Regions from separate parts of the Homo sapiens genome. Here region 2 is linked to region 1. The links are contacts of gene promoters, found by promoter capture Hi-C in blood cells and fetal thymus (Javierre and others, 2016). All regions are on one chromosome and are shown on one strand. The core of a region is centred on a gene start or on the middle of the fragment in contact, and the rest is flanking DNA. Distances in the headings are between cores, read along the strand shown. Region 1 holds the start of DLK2 (delta like non-canonical Notch ligand 2). Region 2 overlaps CUL9 (cullin 9).

The links. The method cuts DNA at HindIII sites, captures the fragments that hold promoters and counts their contacts. A CHiCAGO score of 5 or more calls a contact.
Region 2: a contact is called between a fragment that was not itself captured here and the fragment with the promoter of DLK2 in region 1, in 1 of 17 cell types (naive B cells). The highest score is 5.2, in naive B cells.

The regions. Positions count from the first base shown.
Region 1 is chr6:43,454,255-43,456,954 of GRCh38, forward strand. DLK2 (delta like non-canonical Notch ligand 2) reads right to left here and starts at 1,294. Exons shown (of 6, transcript NM_023932.4): 1 at 1,141-1,294; 2 at 496-626; 3 at 157-220. The coding sequence starts at 571. RefSeq lists enhancers at 273-322, 1,951-2,700 and silencers at 853-932, 963-1,012, 1,113-1,352. The HindIII fragment of the contact is 6,033 bases long and covers 1-2,700 here.
Region 2 is chr6:43,205,571-43,208,270 of GRCh38, forward strand. It overlaps CUL9 (cullin 9), which reads left to right. Exons shown (of 41, transcript NM_015089.4): 25 at 437-665; 26 at 751-940. Among named protein-coding and RNA genes, the nearest start is that of DNPH1, 23 kb to the right of the region's middle. The HindIII fragment of the contact is 3,481 bases long and covers 1-2,700 here.

The sequences.
Region 1 (2,700 bases), core at 44-2,543:
AGAGGTGAGGTAAAGGGGAAAGGGGGACTGGCCAGTCAGCCATAGGAGTGATGAGGCATGAAGAGTAGAGTCTGAAGCCCCTAGACACTGTTGTGCACGTGAAGGGCTTAGAAATGGGTACCAAAGGGTTTGGGGGCACGTGCTCAGGACAGGTACCTGCAGGAGCCGTCAGGTGCACAGCAGCCGTGGGCCAGGTCACAGTGGGAGCTGCAGTCATCGGCTGCAAGAGATTGATGTGGGAGGGGTGAGTCTGAGTCAGGGCACAGCTCGCTGGGATGCGGGACTCAGGAGAGGATTGGGGTTCCAGTAACTGAGCGGACTCAACCCTAGGGCAGGACATAACACAGAAACTCATCCCATTCCAAAAAGGCAACCTCGGTCTTGCTTGCCCCGCGGGTCGGAGCGACTGCAGTGCCGCCTCCGGCCGGCAGAGGTCAACGTGCAAGCGAGGACGGCTGGACAGGGCCGCGACTGGAGCCCAGCGGGCGCGCTCACCTCGGACAGGCTGACCGGGAGCCCCCAGAATGCACAACAGGCACACGAGATGCAGGCAGCGGCAGCCGCTGGGCATGGTCAGCGCCGGCCCCAGGAGGGACGGACGGATGGACGGCCGGACGCGTGGACACCTGTGGGACGGCACCGGTTGGGAGGCGGCCGGACGCGGAGATAGCGGCACGGATACGGGTTCCAAGTGACAGGAGCCGACGAGGGAGAGGGGCGCCGGGACAGAAGAAGGGGATGGGGGTAGCGGGAGGATGGGGGCAGGGAAGGGTTGAGCAGGCGAAGAGAGCGAGGAGAGCGAAGACAGGAACCCGGGAGCGGGGTCTGCAAGGAGGGGAAAGATGGGCATCGCGGAGCGAGGCCAGGCGCGGGAATGGCTGGGGTTGGGATCGTAGTCAGGACGGAGGGGTCCGCGGGATGGGGACAGCGCCGAGAGGCGGCCTCGAGCACGGAGGGGACGCGGGGGCCGGAGGGAAGGACGGTTCCCGGCAGCGAGCAGTCTCCGCCCCACAGCTCCGACAGCCCCCCCCCCCGCCACCACCACTCTCTCCCACGTCCCCTTTCTATCTCCGCCGCGCTGGGTTCGGCGGCGGCGCGGGGCCTGGAATCCCCACCGCGCCCTGTCCCCGCAGTCCTCACCTCCGGCGGGGAGGTGGCGCGCCCCGGGGCGCAGAGAGAGGCCGGATCCGACGGGCGCCGCCGAGGGGCCGTGAGGGAGCGCGGGGCCGCCCCTAGCTGGCCGCGGGGCCGGGCGCCGAAGCGGCTGCCATGCGAGCCGAGCGCTCGGGAATCTGGGGCTCCAGGCGACCCCGAGCGGCGGCAGCGGCTGCTCCTCGCGCGCGCTCAGGCCCCCTGCCAGGGGCGGAGCCCGCCCCCACCCCCATCCCCCCCCCCGCGACGCACGGCGCACACCTAGCACCCGGCGCGCCCCGGGGCCCCGGCCCTCCGCGGCTACCCAACGCCCCGAACCCAGCTTCCTTCCAAGAGAGGAGGAAATCTTAGGAGTCTCAATGGGAGCAAACTATTAAGCCAAAGGAGCGCAACCCCGTTATTCTCTCATCTCCCATGCCCACTTTCCCGACCAGCGCTCCGCGGCCCACGCCCCAGCCCTGCCTTCGCTTGTCCGCCGCTCATCACGCTTCTCATATAGATCTATGCACACGCAGGCAATCGCTCCCCGCCCTCCGCCTGTCACCAGCCCACGCCTCCCCGCTTGTAAAGCCTTCATCACCTGCTTCATCTGTGTGCTCCTCTGCTCCTCCTCGCCCTCCGCTTCTTCCTGTCCACGTTGCCGTCTCCAGCCTTCCAAGATCAACCTATCCCTATATAAATATCAACCCGATCCACCCAACCACACCCCGGCCCTACCCCCACCACCCTTCCCTCCCTCAAGTCTCAGCCCTTCCACCCCATTCCTTTTTGTGACTGCCTCTGAGAATCCTTTCTGGACTGGGAATGCCCCTGACTCTGTAAATGTGCACACAAAACCCCCTCCACCGCCAAGTCTTCTCCTGTACCCCATCACGTTCGTCCTTGGCCTCAGGCTAAACCTCAACTGCCCAAACCTGGAGCTCAGATTCAGAGAGTAACGGAGGGGGAGTGGGGGAAAGCTGCCCTCCAGGCCTCTTTGCCCCCTTCTGGCTAATGGCTCAGAGACACATTTCAAGACAAGGACCCAGCCAAGCTCGGTGGGCTCACGCCTATAATTCCAGCACTTTGGGAGGCTGAGGCGGGCGGATCACCTGAGGTCAGGAGTTCGAGACCAGCCTGGCCAACATGGTGAAACCCGTCTCTATTAAAAATACAGAAATTAGCCAGGCGTGGTGGTGCGCGCCTGTAATCCCAGCTACTCGGAAGGCTGAGGCAGGAAAATCGCTTGAAAACCCGGGAGGCAGACGTTGCAGTTAGCCAAGATCGCGCCACTGCACTCCAGCTTGGGGGACAGAGCAAAACTCCGACCCCCGCCCCCCCCCAAAAAAAGACAAGGACCCAGAACATAATTTCTAGTTTGTGCAGGACAACAGGGCAGAGGTCAGGAACGCTAGCGCCCATCTCTAGTCCTTCAGATTGAGATTTCACCATCTTTAAATTCAAAACATCGGAAGGAGCAGTCGCTAGTCGGGGCAGAGCAGCTTCCCACCTTCACACAGCCACCTCCACAGGCACAGAGCCCCAGGGCTCATTTTTCCTGCAGTCTCC
Region 2 (2,700 bases), core at 67-2,566, 250 kb before region 1:
ATGTAATCCCAGCATTCTGGCAGGCAGATCACCTGAGGTCAGGAGTTCAAGACCAGCCTGACCAACATGGTGAAACCCTTTCTCTACTAAAAATACAAAAATTAGCCAGGTGTGGTGGCGTGGTGGCAGGCACCTGTAATCCCAGCTATTCGGGAGGGTGAGGCAGGTGAATCTCTTGAACCCGGGAGGCAGAGGTTGCAGTGAGCCAAGACCACGTCATTGCACTTCAGCCTGGGTGACAAGAGCAAGACTCCGTCTCAAAAAAAAAAAAAAAAAGTGGAGGTGGTCATGCATTGGTGGAAAGGGAGTGGGAAAGAAGAGGTGAGGTAGGGTATGTGACTCAGGCAGAGGGACAGAGGGACCTACATTCTCGAGGGGGAGGCTGGGCCACGCTGGCACCCACACTGAGGCTTGGCCCGGGCTGTGTGTGCTGCAGGCATTATATGGCGGACCGTCTCCTGAGCTTTGGTTCGAGCTGGCTGGAGGGGGCTGTGCTAGAGCAGATTGGCCTCTGTTTTCCCAACCGCCTCCCACAGCTGATGCTGCAGAGCCTGAGCACCTCTGAGGAGCTGCAGCGCCAGTTCCACCTCTTCCAGCTCCAGCGGCTCGACAAGTTGTTCTTGGAGCAGGAAGATGAGGAGGAAAAGAGACTAGAGGAAGAGGAGGTAAGAGCAGGGAGAATAGGAGAGTGAGAGAAGACTAGACCAAGGAAGGGAGCCCAAGGGCCCTTGAAATCCTTCTGTCCCTCAGGAGGAAGAGGAGGAAGAGGAAGCTGAGAAAGAATTATTTATCGAAGATCCAAGTCCAGCCATTTCTATACTGGTCCTGTCACCACGCTGCTGGCCCGTCTCCCCACTCTGCTACCTGTACCATCCCAGAAAGTGCCTTCCCACAGAATTCTGTGATGCCCTTGACCGTTTCTCCAGTTTCTACAGCCAGAGTGAGGAACTAGGGAGAGGAAATTGGAGATCGGGGTGAGATTCGGGGTGGCAAGAGAGGAAGAGGAGAGGACCTTTGGACAGGATATAGATGTGAAGAAAAATATCAGCTCCTAGCGAGGGATGAGAAAGCATGGGTTGTAGTTTCATTAATTTCTGCTCTCATCAGTTTCTTCAACTTTCTATGAATTTGTTCTGTTTTCTTTTTCTAACTTCAAGTGAGGTGCTTATTTGATTTTTAGTCTTTTCAGACTTTTTTCCAAATAAAAGTGTTTAAGACTATTCATTTCCCTCTCAATACTGCTTTAGTGGCATCCTATAAAGTTTTAAAAGATTTTTTTTCTTTATTTTTTTGACATGGAGTCTCACTCTGTCACCCAGACCAGAGTGCAGTGGTGTAATCTCTGCTCACTGCAGCCTCTACCTCCCGGGTTCAAGCGATTCTCCTGTCTCAGCCTCCCAAGTAGCTGGGACTACAGGCGTATGCCACCACACCCGGCTAATTGTGTATTTTTAGTAGTGACGGGGTTTCACCATGTTAACCAGGCTGGTCTCAAACTCCTGACCTCAGGTGATCCACCCGCCTCAGTGAGCCACTGTGCCCGGCCAAAAAGATTTTTTAGATTGGGATATAACTAGTATTCAGTAAAGTGCACACGTCTTAATTATAAGGCTTCATGAATTATTATATTCATATACACCCATGTATCTACCTCCCTCATACCCCCATCAAGATACAGAACATTTCCAGCATCGTAGAAGGCTGTCTCCTTCATGCCCCCTTTCCAGTCAATGTCTTCTTCCAGGAGAAATCATTATTTTTAACCTTTATCACCATAGATTTGTGCCTGTATTTGAACATCATATAAATGGAATCATACAGTATTCTGCTGTGTCTGATGTCTTTCACGAAACATACTGTCTGTGAGGGTTATTCAGGTTGTCAAGGGTATCATTAGTTTATTCATTTATTTTGCTGAGTCATATTCCATTGTATGGATGTATTTACCCTTTCTGCTGTTTATGGGCATTTGGGATGTTCTGTAAGTTTTTATTACGTATTATTTTTATTATTGTTTAGTTCTAAGAATTGTTAAATTTCTATTATTATTTCTTTATTTTGTTTTTCAGAAGAATATATATTTTAATTTCCAAACAAGTTTTTCTTTGTTTAATTTTTTTTTGTTTTATATTTCTAACCTCATTCCCCTGTGGCCAAAGAGCATGGTTTCTATGATTCTGAATCTTTGCAGTTTATTGAGACTTCGTTATGGCCTGGTAGATGGTCATATTTTACCTGTTTCATGTATGATTAAGAAGAATGTGTATTCTTAACTGGATTCTACATATTTCACCAAATTGACCTTGTTAATTGTTTTGTTCACATCTTCTGTAAAGTTACTAGTTTTTGTCTACTTGATCTACTACTGAGAGAGGTGTGCTAAAATCTACCACTATGATGGTGAATTTTTTAAAACCGCTAATCATACTGGTTTAACTGTATATATATTTTTTGGCTATTTTGTTAGAAGGTTAAAATAGTTTAACAGTGCTATCCAGTAGAACTTTCTGCAATGATTGAAAAATTCTTTTCTGCACCGTTCAGTATGATAGTCATTGGTGGCAATTAAGTACTTGGAATGTGGCTAATATAACTGAGGAACTAAATAATTTAATTGTAATCAGTTTATTATTTTATTTTAATTTTTTTGAGACAGAGTCTCACTCTGTCACCCAGGCTGGAGTACAGTGGCTTGATCTT